Regions from separate parts of the Homo sapiens genome. Here region 1 is linked to region 2. Evidence: promoter capture Hi-C in 16 types of primary human blood cells and fetal thymus (Javierre and others, 2016). All regions are on one chromosome and are shown on one strand. Each heading gives the region's core, a stretch centred on a gene start or on the middle of the fragment in contact. The rest is flanking DNA. Distances are from core to core; before and after follow the strand shown.

What was found. Contacts are between HindIII fragments. The CHiCAGO score rates a contact against its expected background, and 5 or more counts as called.
Region 1: a fragment that was not itself captured here is called in contact with the fragment with the promoter of EHD3 in region 2 in 2 of 17 cell types (naive CD8 T cells and monocytes); the score reaches 6.6 in naive CD8 T cells.

What each region holds. Positions count from the first base shown.
Region 1 is chr2:30,717,445-30,724,476 of GRCh38, forward strand. It overlaps CAPN13 (calpain 13), which reads right to left. Exons shown (of 23, transcript NM_144575.3): 23 at 5,327-5,792. Among named protein-coding and RNA genes, the nearest start is that of CAPN13, 86 kb to the right of the region's middle. RefSeq lists enhancers at 3,540-4,040, 4,041-4,541. The HindIII fragment of the contact is 993 bases long and covers 5,050-6,042 here.
Region 2 is chr2:31,230,059-31,236,842 of GRCh38, forward strand. EHD3 (EH domain containing 3) reads left to right here and starts at 4,094. Exons shown (of 6, transcript NM_014600.3): 1 at 4,094-4,790. The coding sequence starts at 4,564. It also overlaps a transcript of CAPN14 not described here. The HindIII fragment of the contact is 24,555 bases long and covers 1,136-6,784 here.

The DNA.
Region 1 (7,032 bases), core at 4,296-6,795, 510 kb before region 2:
CATTACTGGCAGCTCCCTGTAGTGTCTGGCTTGGGTAGCAGTAGCAGCTTCTTGGTTCTCTTAAGGCTAGTGGTGAGCCTGGGAGTCAGTGGTGACCTTCCTGGCCTTTGCTCCTTTAACCAATCCAACAGCTTTTTAAGTGCCTCATTCCTTAGACTAGATCCCTTCCTTCTTGAAATACCTTGAGTGGTTTTTTTTGTTTTTTTTTTTTTTTCCTGACTAGACCTGGCTGATACACTTTGCTCCTTCCTCACCATTTAAACTCTTTCGCTAGTCTGTATGCACATGTAGCTGCTGTCTGGAACCCAGCTGCCCTGGAGTGAGTGTGTGTGTGCACACGTGCTGTCAGATGGCTACCTCACTGGGGTAACCCCCAGCTCCAGGGAAGCAGATCAGTCCTTTCCTCTGCTCTACCGGGCACCAGCCTAAAGTCTAGTTGCTGGAGAGGCCACAGTAACCGAATCAGGGGACTTATGCTTCAATCTTGTATCTGTCACTTCTTTTTTTTTTTTTTTATACTTTAAGTTCTAGGGTACATGTGCACAACGTGCAGGTTTGTTACATATGTATACATGTGCCATGTTGGTGTGCTGCACCCGTTAACTCATCATTTACATTAGGTATATCTCCTAATGCTATCCCTCCCTGCTCTCCCCACCCCATGACAGGCCCCAGTGTGTGATGTTCCCCATCCTGTGTCCAAGTGTTCTCATTGTTCAATTCCCACCTATGAGTGAGAACATGCGGTGTTTGGTTTTCTGTCCTCGTGGTAGTTTGCTGAGAATGATGGTTTCCAGCTTCATCCATGTCCCTACAAAGGACATGAACTCATCCTTTTTTTATGGCTGCATAGTATTCCATGGTGTATATGTACCAAATTTTCTTAATCCAGTCTATCATTGGTGGACATTTGGGTTGGTTCCAAGTCTTTACTATTGTGAATAGTGCCGCAATAAACATACATGTGCATGTGTCTTTATAGCAGCATGATGTATAATCCTTTGGGTATATGCCCAGTAATGGGATGGCTGGGTCAAATGGTATTTCTAGTTCTAGATCCTTGAGGAATCACCACACTGTCTTCCACAATGGTTGAACTAGTTTACAGTCCCACCAACAGTGTAAAAGTGTTCCTATTTCTCCACATCCTCTCCAGCACCTGTTGTTTCCTGACTTTTTAATGATCACCATTCTAACTGGTGTGAGATGGTATCTCATTGTGGTTTTGATTTGCGTTTCTCTGATGGCCAGTGATGGTGAGCATTTTTTCATGTGTCTGTTGGCTGCATAAATGTCTTCTTTTGAGAAGTGTCTGTTCATATCCTTTGCCCACTTTTTGATGGGGTTGTTTGATTTTTTTCTTGTAAATTTGTTTAAGTTCTTTGTAGATTCTGGATATTAGCCCTTTGTCATATGAGATTGTAAAATTTTTCTCCCATTCTGTAGGTTGCCTGTTCACTCTGATGGTACTTTCTTTTGCTGTGTAGAAGCTCTTTAGTTTAATTAGATCCCATTTGTCAATTTTGGCTTTTGTTGCCATTGCTTTTGGTGTTTTAGTCATGAAGTCCTTGCCAACTATGTCCTGAATGTTATTGCCTAGGTTTTCTTCCAGGGTTTTTGTGGTTTTAGGTCGAACATGCAAGTCTTTAATCCATCTTGAATTAGTTTTTGTATAAGGTGTAAGGAAGGGATCCAGTTTCAGCTTTCTACATATGGCTAGCCAGTTCTCCCAGCACCATTTATTAAATAGGGAATCCTTTCCCCATTGCTTGTTTTTGTTAGGTTTGTCAAAGATCAGATGGTTGTAGATGTGTGGTATTATTTCTGAGGGCTCTGTTCTGTTCCATTGGTCTATATCTCTGTTTTGGTACCAGTACCATGCTGTTTTGGTTACTGTAGCCTTGTAGTATAGTTTGAAGTCAGGTAGCGTGATGCCTCCAGCTTTGTTCTTTTGGCTGAGGATTGTCTTGGCAATGTGGGCTCTTTTTGGTTCCATATGAACTTTAAAATACTTTTTCCCAATTCTGCGAAGAAAGTCATTGGTAGCTTGATGGGGAGGGCATTGAATCTATAAATTACCTTGGGCAGTATGGCCATTTTCACAATTGATTCTTCTTATCCATGAGCATGGAATGTTCTTCCCTTGTTTGTGTCCTCTTTTATTTCGTTGAGCAGTGATTTGTAGTTTTCCTTGAAGAGGTCCTTCACGTCCCTTGTAAGTTGGATTCCTAGGTATTTTATTCTCTTTGAAGTAATTGTGAATGGGAGTTCACTCATGATTTGGCTCTCTGTTTGTCTGTTATTGGTGTATAAGAATGCTTGTGATTTTTGCACATTGATTTTGTATCCTGAGACTTTGCTGAAGTTGCTTATCAGCTGAAGGAGATTTTGGGCTGAGATGATGGGGTTTTCTAAATATACAATCATGTCATCTGCAAATCAGGACAATTTGACTTCCTCTTTTCCTAATTGAATACCCTTTATTTCTTTCTCCTGCCTGATTGTCCTGGCCAGAACTTCCAACACTATGTTGAATAGGAGTGGTGAGAGAGGGCATCCCTGTCTTGTGCCAGTTTTCAAAGGGAATACTTCCACTTTTTGCCCATTTAGTATGATATTGGCTGTGGGTTTGTCATAAATAGCTCTTATTATTTTGAGATACGTCCCATCAATACCTAGTTTATTGAGAGTTTTTAGCATGAAGTGCTGTTGAATTTTGTCAAAGGCCTTTTCTGCATCTATTGAGATAATCCTGTGGTTTTTGTCTTTGGTTCTGTTCATATGATGGATTACTTTTATTGATTTGTGTATGTTGAATCAGCCTTGCCTCCCAGGGATGAAGCCCACTTGATCGTGGTGGATAAGCTTTTTGATGTGCTGCTGGATTCGGTTTGCCAGTATTTTATTGAGGATTTTTGCATCAATGTTCATCAGGGATATTGGTCTACAATTCTCTTTTTTTGTTGTGTCTCTGCCAGGTTTTGGTATCAGGATGATGCTGGCCTCATAAAATGAGTTAGGGAGAATTCCCTCTTTTTCTATTGATTGGAATAGTTTCAGAAGGAATGGTAGCAGCTCCTCTTTGTACATCTGGTAGAATTCGGCTGTGAATCCGTCTGGTCCTGGACTTTTTTTGGTTGGTAGGCTATTAATTATTGCCTCAATTTCAGAGCCTGTTATTGGTGTATTCAGGGATTAGACTTCTTCCTGGTTTAGCCTTTGGAGGGTGTATGCATCCGGGAATTTATCCATTTCTTCTAGATTTTCTAGTTTATTTGCATAGAGGTGTTTATAGTATTCTCTGATGGTAGTTTGTATTTCTGTGGGATTGGTGGTGATATCCCCTTTATCATTTTTTATTGCATCTATTTGATTCTTCTCTCTTTTCTTATTAGTCTTGGTAGCAGTCTATCAATTTTGTTGATGTTTTCAAAAAACCAGCTCCTGGATTCACTGATTTTTTGAAGGTTTTTTTGTGTCTCTATCTCCTTTAGTTCTGCTCTGATCTTAGTTATTTCTTGCCTTCTGGTAGCTTTTGAATGTGTTTGCTCTTGCTTCTCCAGTTCTTTTAACTGTGATGTTAGGATGTCACTTTTAGATCTTTCCTGCTTTCTCTTGTGGGCATTTAGTGCTATAAATTTCCCTCTACACTCTACTTTAAATGTGTCCCAGAGACACACTGTATCTGCCACTGCTAATGGCATGGCCACCTCTTCTCGGGGCCTCAGAAATCTCATCTGGACACCTTGCTTCCATCATACGATGGCTTTAGTAGCAGAAGCTCTAGGGAGCCTGGGGGGCAGGTGGGATTTGTGCCTGAGCCTTTGTCATTTGCTCTGTGAGGGATCCCACCCCTCCATCTGGGCACCAGCCATGGTCCTTGCTCACCTCCTCATCTTGCAGAGACAAAGCAACCCATCCCAGGACCCAAGTGTAAGAAGCTGGCAGGGGCAGGGTTTGTCTGAGATCGTCAGCCTGTCAAGCCCGCCCTGCTCTGGAGCCCTTTCTCAACTTTGGCTGAAGGACATGGGGAGTCCCAAGGAGATGCAGCCTCGGGGTGAGCTGGCTGGTCTGCCCTGTGCTGGGGCTAAGGATCAAGGTCCTGCCCTTCCCTGGGGAGACTGGAATATAATCTCCCCCAGCTCCAAGCAGGGAAGCCCAGGCCCCTCTGCCGTGGCCACCTGGAGCCTTTCTGAGCCTTCAGAGCCCCAGCATGACAGGGAGAATCAGTTTTTCAATCAAGCAATTGAGGACCCTGCCCCTTTAAATCCTGTTAAAGAGAAAATTAATGACTGGTCCCTGAGCAAAGCCCTGTGAGGGAAGAAATTGCCCTGTATCCTGAGAACACCAGTCCAGCCTGTGCAGACCCCTGGGGCTGCTCACCACTGACCCTAGGCCTGCAGAATCATCCATTTCTGCTTGTCCTCCAGGGTGCAAGCAGGCCCAAAAGGAGCTTGGAATGACATGTGGTTGTGGCAGCAAATTGTGCAGGTGGGCTGGACTTTCTACCTGGATGCCTGGGTGAAGGTCATCTTTGAATCCTGCAGGAAATGGCTTATTCATTCTTATGGATTTTCCCACTTATCAGAGTCTCTGTTGACCTGCCAGCCCCAGTTTTTTTGCATGCAGAAAATCTTATGCAACAGGGCAGTCTGACAGCCTAGGATTCAGGATCTTTAGATATTAGCTTTAACTCCAAAGTCCATGCTCACAAACATGGGCATCTATCCTGGCTAACCAAGCAGGGGACTGGGAGGCAAAGTGACCTGTCCCAAACTTTGCTGTGTGTCTGACCCTCTCGCTATTCAAAAGCATTAGCAAGAGGGGTTCAACTCCTTAGGCAGGTAGCTATTCTACTTGAAATGACTGTGGAGGCTTTACAACAGTCCCTGTGGATGAGGTCACTTGGGCCTGTTTGGTACTTGTATACAGCATGCCATCACTGCCGAGCACTGCCCTTGCTCCTGGCATGGGTGTGTGTGTGATGATGCAGCCCTGTCCACACCATCCTGTCCTCCGACCGTGCCACTCAGAAAGTCACACTCAGCAAGCTTCCCACCTTCCTGTCCTTTTGACACACCCATTTGCAACGATTCCCCTACTGGGTTGATGCATCCAGAAATGAGCTTTCCAACTGCAAATTCTTCTGAGCGGGATCTGGCCCAGTTATGCTGTGGAATCTCTTCCATCCTCTGTGGGCCTCACCTTTTTGAGACACCCAGTGACCGCACCATGGATGAGGAGAGAGTGAGGGAAGCGTCTGCCTTGCTGGGTACTTTTCCTCTTCCCCAAATGTATTTTTAAGACAGAATATGAATGAGAGACCTTTATGGGAAACATGTTTTATTTTTGCCATTTAGCTGTGAAATCATCAGGATCCAGACATAAGATAGTGTAATTATTCTGCAAACACCCAGTGGACAGCTCTTGTGTCACCCATAGCACCCGAGGGTGGTCAAAGTGGCTCATTCTGGCTCTTCCAAGAAATGAATCCAACTGGTGACAGGGGACTCAGAGACAACTTCTCTTCTCCTTTCCCACAGGGAGACATCTCCTGCTTCCTTTTCCAGGGCAACGTAGGCTGAATACATCCCAAAGTGCTCAGATGAGCTGCTTGGTGGCCACAGGCTTAACTGGGCCTGGGCCAGCCAAGGACCGAACCCAGGCTGTTGGGAGACAGCTTGGACTCTGTTTCATGCAGGGCTGGTTTAGATTTATCACAACCACCATACTGGGCAGCACAGCCTCTTAGAATGAGAGCCAGATTCTTGAGTGATCACTGGGAGCTTGTCCTAGAGAAAGACACGGGGGTGCAAATGCAGAGGGCCAAGGGTGAGTAAAGAAACTCCTTCCTTTGAGTGACCATGGAAGTGGGGCCCCATTCCAAAGATGCTGTTCTGGATCATCCCACAGTAAAGGAAGCACTGGCACTTCCTGCTGGCAAGGCTGACAGACCCCAACGTGCCCATGGCCCCTTAATGGATGACCCTACCCCATTCTTCAAAATTCCTTAAAGGGCACCCCCCCACCTGTCCTGCCCCAAGCTTGAGTTCATATCATAGCCCATTTTAGCACCTTGAGGGCTGGCACTGGAGTGGAGGGAAACTTGGGGGAGAGATGTTCCTCCCATCTCCAGGCAGGTTAGAAGGGCTGAGGCCAGGGGCTGCTATAGTAACAACAGCCCTGAGCTCTGTCCCATCCAAGCTCCAGATGGCTAGCTTTGGACTTCTGCAGAGGAGTGGTTTTTCTCAAGTGCAGGGGGCTTGGAATAAAGTGACATTCGTGCATAGTCATGTTTTCTGCAATAATCAGCCAGCTGCCCTACCCATGGGGTAAAGAGGCCTCAACTCTTCTTCCCTGCCTCCCTCCACCTCTCTTGTCTCTCAGACTACTTGCTAGTTTGCCTATTTTTTTTTCCATGAAAACTCAGTCCAAGATACATGGTTAGAAAATTCAAAGAGTACTACAAGGCACGAAGGAAAAATAGCAGGTTCTTGTCCCATTTCTATCCAAATTCCCCTCCCTAAACTCTTTCTTCTGATGTTTACCTCCATATTTCTAGGTAATGTGCTTATGCAGTTAATTCTTGATTTGTCAATTTTAAATGCCTATTGACTTCTTATGATGCAAGATGGGGTGGGGTTGCTTCTAACCCCCTTTCATGTCTACATCTTCCCTCCTTCTGATATATTTATGTCACATTTTTGTTAAATCAATATTCCATTTGTATTTTATTACAATTATATATGTACTGTTCACTGCTGAGTGAAAAAATACTCTAGGATCACATTTTCTCTCTTCTGTAACTCTTTATTCTTCCAGGAGTTAATAACTACCTCACTTTTTTGTCTGCTTAGTTTAAGTCATTATCCTACTAATTCTTCCAAAGCTCTCCAGCAGAATTTCAAAATCCCTCTGAACATTATTTTTTCTATAATTAAGCAATCTGATCAAAAATTGCTCCCATTTTCCCCAAAGGCCACCCCTCCAGCTCCTCTCGGAATGGCTCACTCTCTTGCTCTGCTGCATAGC
Region 2 (6,784 bases), core at 2,844-5,343:
ACATGTGAAGGTTTGTTATATAGGTAAACTAGTGTCATGGAGGTCTGTTGTACAGATGATTTCATCACCCAGGTGTTAAGTCTAGTAACCAATAGTTCTTGCTTTTTGTTCCTCTCCTTCCTCCCACCCTCCACCCTCAACTAGACCCCAGTGTGGTATATATTTTATATGAATGTGGCACATTTATCCATTTACTCGGTGAAGGACATTTAGTTGTTTATAAATTTTTGCTGCTACAAATAATGTTGCCATCAACATTCTTAAGACTTATCTCCCTATGCACATGTGCAAGAGTTTCTCTAGATCACGCCTTGAAATAGAATGGAAGGAGATAGGTCATAGGACATGCACATCTTCAGCTTCACTAAGCAATGCCAAACTGTTTCCCAAAGTATTTGTGCCAGCCTGCACGCCCATCAGCATTTTATGAGAGCTCCCATTGCTCTACATCCTCACCAACCCTACCATCCAACTTTTTATTCTTGCCATTTTGGTGGGTATGGAGTGTTAGTGTGGTTTGGCATTTCTCTAATTACTAATGAGATGCAACATGTTTTCTTGCGTTTATAGGGCATTCATGTAGCCTCTTGTAAAAGACATTTTTGTAGCTCTTGCCAAGTTTTTTTCTATTGGAATGTTTGTCTTTGTTATCGATGCACAGCCATTAGTTCTATATTCTGGATGTGCTTTCATGGGTTTTTGTGTATAGGAAATATCTTTTCACTCACTTTTGTATTTTTAGTTGAACGAAAGTTTTAAATTTTGCTAGTGCTAAACTTAGTTTTTTTCATTTTTCAGTTTGTGCTTCTGACGTCTTGTTTAAAGAACTCTTCCTGACTTTGTGGTGATATATATGCAATCTCTATTGCAACTTCTGTATATGTCAGGCTTCCAAATTTCCTGGCTATTTACTGTGTTGTTATTCTGTTGGTCTCTGTGCCAAAACCATATTAACCACTGTAACTCCATAACAATGTCCACTAGGGCAAGTCCTCTTCGCTTAGTTGTTGCCATTGCTATGTTACTGTTGTCCTCTTCTCTTCTCTGTTCTCCTTTTTCTGCCCTCCTTCCCCTTCCACCTCTCCCTCTCCTCCTCCTTATTCTTCTTATCTTCTTTCTTCTCCTGGAATATCTAAGCTTTTTTTTACTATTGCTCTATAAGTTATACATTTTAGAATCACCTTGTCAATTTCCATGGAAAACCTTATTTAGATTTTGATTTCAATCATATCTCTCAATTATTGAATTTATCAATCATGTTGTAAAGAATTCACATGTTTGTGACAAGGAATCCTTCCACAATGGAACATGGCATGTCTCTCCCATTTACTTAGAACTTCTTTAACATCTTTCTATAAAGTTTTATTATTTTTCACATAAAGATCTTGCATATCTTTTGTCAGATTTATCCGTAAGTTTTTGTTCTTTTGAACACAGTATCTTTTTTGAATATTATCTTTCATGACCTTTTATTGCTAGTCTATAGAAATGCTCCATTAGTTCCTTTTTTAAACAGATAGATTTCAACTACTCAAGACTGAGACGGGAGTAGATGTGTCAACACGCACTTGGTAAATTAGATATTCGGAACAGACATTCAGCAGTAGACAATGGCATGGCCGTACTGATTACAAAATTCTTGAAATACTTCCATAATGGGGCCCCTTGATTTCTTTCCTGTCACGCTGGCCATACTGACCTCTCTCCGGGGACAGGCTCAGATCTCTCCAAGGTCCAGACGCCACTGTATTAACACCAGGCGTGGCACGGGGCCGCAAGCCTTGCTCCACTAGGAAGGCCAGTGTCTGTTCCGGGTGTTTGATTCTCATGCCTTGTGAGTTGTTAAATATCTTTAATATTACTCCTTAGGTTCGTATGTTGGTAGTAGCTAAACACCAAGGGTGAAATATTAATCTGAGTGAATTCTCAACAAGAGATGATCAGTTTTGGGGTTCAAGGAGGGAGTCGGGAGATCTGAGATGTAACTAAGGAGATTCTATTCAGCACTGGCCTCTGATAATCCCCCCTCCCCTGAAATCCCTGCAGCTTCACCACACTCCTCTTGAAGCTCCTGCAGGCACTTCAAACGCAACACGTTTTAGATTGAACACATTATCTCTGTCTGCTAAATCAGCTCTCTCTCTGCCTCCCCTAATTAGTGGAAGAGCTTCTCCAATGATCTTATCCCCTATGGTAGAAAATTCAAAATCATCCTAGACTGTGCCTCACCCTTATGTCCTCTTTTTTTTATCACATACCAAGATCTGACAATTCTATTCCATGAAAAAAATCTTTTGAGTCTGACCTCTTCTCCAATCCCATTGCAGCTGTCTCCTAAGTTTTGGAATAGTTTCCTAAATGGTCTCTTGGCCTCTGTATTCGTCTGTTTTCACACTGCTGTGAAGAAATACCTAAGACTGGGTAATTTATAAAGGAAAAAGGTTTAATTAACTCACAGTTCTGCATGCCTAGAGAGGCCTCAGGAAACTTACAGTCATGGCATAAAGGGAAGCAAACACGTCCTTCATAAGGCGGCAGGAGAGAGAAGTATGAGGAACCAAGTGGGAAGAGCCCCTTATAAAACCATCAGCTCTCACGAGAACTCACTCACTATCATGAGAACAGCATGAATGAAACTGTCCCTATGATCCAATCTCCTCCCACCAGCTCTCTCCCTAAACGCATGGGGATTATGGGGATTACAATTAGAGATGAGATTTATGCGGGGACACAAAGCAAAACCATATCAACCCCCAACCTCTTTTGCCCCTCCAACACTGCTCTTGGCATTCCAGTTCCTGCCTGGTCCATAGCCTACTCCTTCTTCATCTGTGGAAGGGAGGGTAGTGGGAGTCATTAGCCTGGGCAGGGAGGAGTGTTTTATCACTACACTGTTTAGAATGGTGCCAATACAAAGCACATCAACTTTCAGCAAGTTTATTATTGGGTTTAAATTCTCTACACACGATGCACTGCTTTTGCCTACACCTGGACAGTGTTCCCACTCACTCTCCTTAGTATGATGCTGGAGATAATATGATCTGCCATGAAGGTTAAATAAAGCAATGTTCACTGAGAACTTAGCCCAGGCCCCTGCACATGCTGAGCATTTTGTTAATGTAACAATGATTAGTAATAGCATTGCTATTGGTTCCCCATCTCTGGCAAAGCCTTTCATGCTTGGCCTCCCTCACTCTCTTTCACCTTCCTAAACCCTACACTCCAGCTATGCCAAACTGTTTACTCTGCCTTGGACACACCAAGTTCCTCAAGCCTTTGCAAATACTCCTTACGCTCCTAGAACAATGGATGTCAATTCATCATTTAGGATCCAGCTTACAGTCATGCTTTCCATGAAGCCTTCCTCAAATTAGCCACACAAAAGGAGTGACTCCTCCCTGTATTCCCATGACCCTCTGCTCATGCCTCCTCTTTAAAGCCTGCCTTCACTGGAGTTCCTGGAAGGGAGAGTCTGTTCAGCACTCATCTCTGTATCCACAGTCACCAAAATTGTAACTGCCCCATAATAAATTCCCAATACTTGCAGGGATTTTGCTTCTTGGCTTGTTTTGTTTTGCTGGAATGAATGAATAAGTAAATGGGAACGATTTTGACTTCACCCTAAGCCTAGCTAAAAGTTTGGGTAGTGACAGTTTTGGTTATTTTGTGTAACCTGATAGTGGATCCCCTTTCTATGCCAAAAAAAAAAAAAATCCCCCAATACTAGAGTACCTGTTTTCCTAGGGAATTGACCTCAGCAACTGAAGGAGAGGCGATTCAAAGCAGGGAGTGTGATGAATAGGTCAACTCTGTCCTCGCAGCCGTCCCTGAGAGGGCGCTGTTCCCAAATCGAAGCCCCAGAGGCGGAGACTGAGACACCGGCACTCTCCCACTGGACTGGGTCAGCATCCCTCTCCCCGCGCGGCCGCAGGTCTAGAGCTGAGCGCCTGCCCACAAACATGGCGGCGCCCTGCGCGGCTTCCCGTCGCCGCAACCGTGGGGCCGGCCCTGCCTTGCCAGTACTAGGGGACTTCCTCTGCGCGCCGGCTTCCTGCCCAGCTGGCATTTAAACCACCGCCTGGGGCTGCAGGATGCTGCTGCGGATGCAGAGCTGTCCGCGGGCTGGGCAGCGTCGCCGTCTCCCCTGAGCCGCCTCGGTCCGGCAGGAGCGGAGCCGAAGCATCCCTTGCTGCACGCAGGGCAGAGCAGGCGAGGGCTGGGGGCCGATCGGGGACCCCGGCTTGGGACCCCGGCATCTGGCAGTTTCCTTGCAGGTTCAACTTTAATTGCCAAGATTTCACCCCTCCTCCTCAAGCCCAGATTATTTATCCTCCCTCCGGCCTGGGCTGCTGGATGCAGCAGCGGCTGGGCTTGGTCCCAGGAGCAGGGAGAGTGCGCTCCCGGCCCTCCTAGCCGCGTGCCCGGGCCATGGTGCGGCTGAGCCCCGCGCTTGGGTGAGGCGGCGGCGCGGCTCGGAGCCCGGCGGACCGGTCCTACGGGACATCTTCCCCTGAGGAGGAGTCTTCCCCTGGGGCTGCGTGCCGGGGGCGAGCGGCGGCCGCGATGTTCAGCTGGCTGGGTACGGACGACCGCCGGAGGAAGGACCCCGAGGTTTTCCAGACGGTGAGTGAGGGGCTCAAGAAACTCTACAAGAGCAAGCTGCTGCCCTTGGAAGAGCATTACCGCTTCCACGAGTTCCACTCGCCCGCCCTGGAGGATGCCGACTTCGACAACAAGCCCATGGTTCTGCTGGTGGGCCAGTACTCCACTGGGAAGACCACCTTCATCAGGTGAGCCGGCCCAGGGTCCTGGCAGCCCACCCCGGAGCCCAGCGCCTAGTCCCTCCGGTCACTCCTGGTGCTCCATCCCAGACAGGGGACCAATGGGAAGCCTTCAGTTGAGGGCTCTGAAGAGATCTGTGTTTGTGCAGGCGTCAAAATCTTACCCCACAATTTTTGCTGGTCCCCCTTCCCATCCTACCCAATACCTGTCCACTCTACTTGGCCCTTGGCTGTGGTGGTCAACCTGAAGTATTCAAGTGTAAAGCCATTCCCAGTCTCCCCATCTTATGGATGATGAAACCGAGGCCCAGGAGGCACAATGGAAGAGCTCCTGGTCTCTGGAGCGCCTTATGTTGGTGGGGATGTCTTACGTCTTCACTTTTTAGCAACACATCATTCACGGGCAAAACCTCTTCCCTTGTTTTTCAAGGGGCTTGGCACTCACATGGGGGCCTCACAGTTGCAGCTGAGTTCTGATGGGTGCGGGCCTGGGAACGGAGGTGGCCTGGGGATGCTACTTGTCCTCCTTTTATCATTTCCTTCTCTAAAGCAGAGCTCCTGTGTATATATCTTGGAGACTCAACAGAAGCTGAGTCCAGAAGCAGAATGCTTTTTTTTTCCCCTTTCTCTTATTTGATCTTAATGGCTTAATAATAATATTAAAGACGCTTAGAGATGGAAGGGATATTGGCATTGTCTCATCCAGTTGCTGAGTTTGCAGGTGAGATAACCGAGGCGCAGAGAAGTTAAATGAATTGTGCAGAGCCATCTAAAGAGTGGGCAGCAGACCTGGGATGTTAAGTCCTAGATGCATGTGAGGAGATGCTTGGCTAAACGCCTGTAACTCTGAGAATGAGTCATCCATTCCCTTCAATTACAGAATCCTTGGGCTGGAGGGAGGCTCAAGAAGTCAATTTGTTCACCCTGCATTCAGAGAAGTCCACCAGAGGCCCTTCTTATCTTTAGAGAACAGGCTTCACTCCAGTCCTCAATCTTCCCAACTTCAAGGCCAGCCATTTTCTTGGCCCCTTTTATAGCCATTCCAAATTGTTGAGAATGCTGTGGCCCTCTGTCTTAAGACTCAGGCTCCCACAGCTTGAGAATGGAGTTTGGTGGCCCCCCAAAGTCAAGTGTGCTCATCTCCTGCAGAGGGTTTGGAAAGCAGGGGTACCCTTATTCCTATTCCTTGGCTGTTTGAGCATCCACAGCATGTGAAATGCTGTGCTTTGTTTGGTGAGGAGTGCAGAAAAGTTAACAGTCTAGTTACTAATTTTCTAGGTACTAATTTTCTCTAACATCCACCTTGTAACGCCAGCCTTCTGGAAGTAGCACCATGCTAATAGGTCATGTCTAAACACAACACCACATTGAGTTTGTCCTTGTGGAGTGCACAGCCTAGGGCTCAGCAGCTTTAAGAGGCCAAGTGATTTCTGAAGGAGTTTGGGAGGTGATGGGCCTGTTGGCTCTTGTATGTTTTATATTGATAGAACTGCAAGAGGCCTTAGAGATTAAACTAATCCATTGCTTCTTAACTTTCTATCTTTAGAAAAATGTACGTACATCCCAAATTTGCATATAATGTTGGGGGTCCAAGGGCCTTCTTTGGACTTTAGGGTGGGAACCCCTGATCTAAGCCATGCTTCTTGTTTTATTAAGCACCCATTGCTGCCAAAGGCACTTCAGAGCTGCCTGGGTTGCCTGCAGAGTTTCCTTTGTGAGCCCTGGCCTCCACTTGGCCCATTCATGCCTCAGGGGAAGTTCAGGCCATTTGCAGATGGCCCTTGCCCTCTCAGCCTTCCCTGGCTCTCTACACATATGGTATTTATAACCTTTCATACATTATCTGTAGCTTCTCCTTCCTGGTGTACAATCATTGACAAGACAACATCCATGCCTTAGCATCTCTGGGGCCTTGCCCAGGGTCTCGGCTATAGGAGGTTCCCAGTAGACATTTTGCAGAATGGGAGGGAAGATGGGGAGAGGTGAGGATCCCCAAGCAGCAG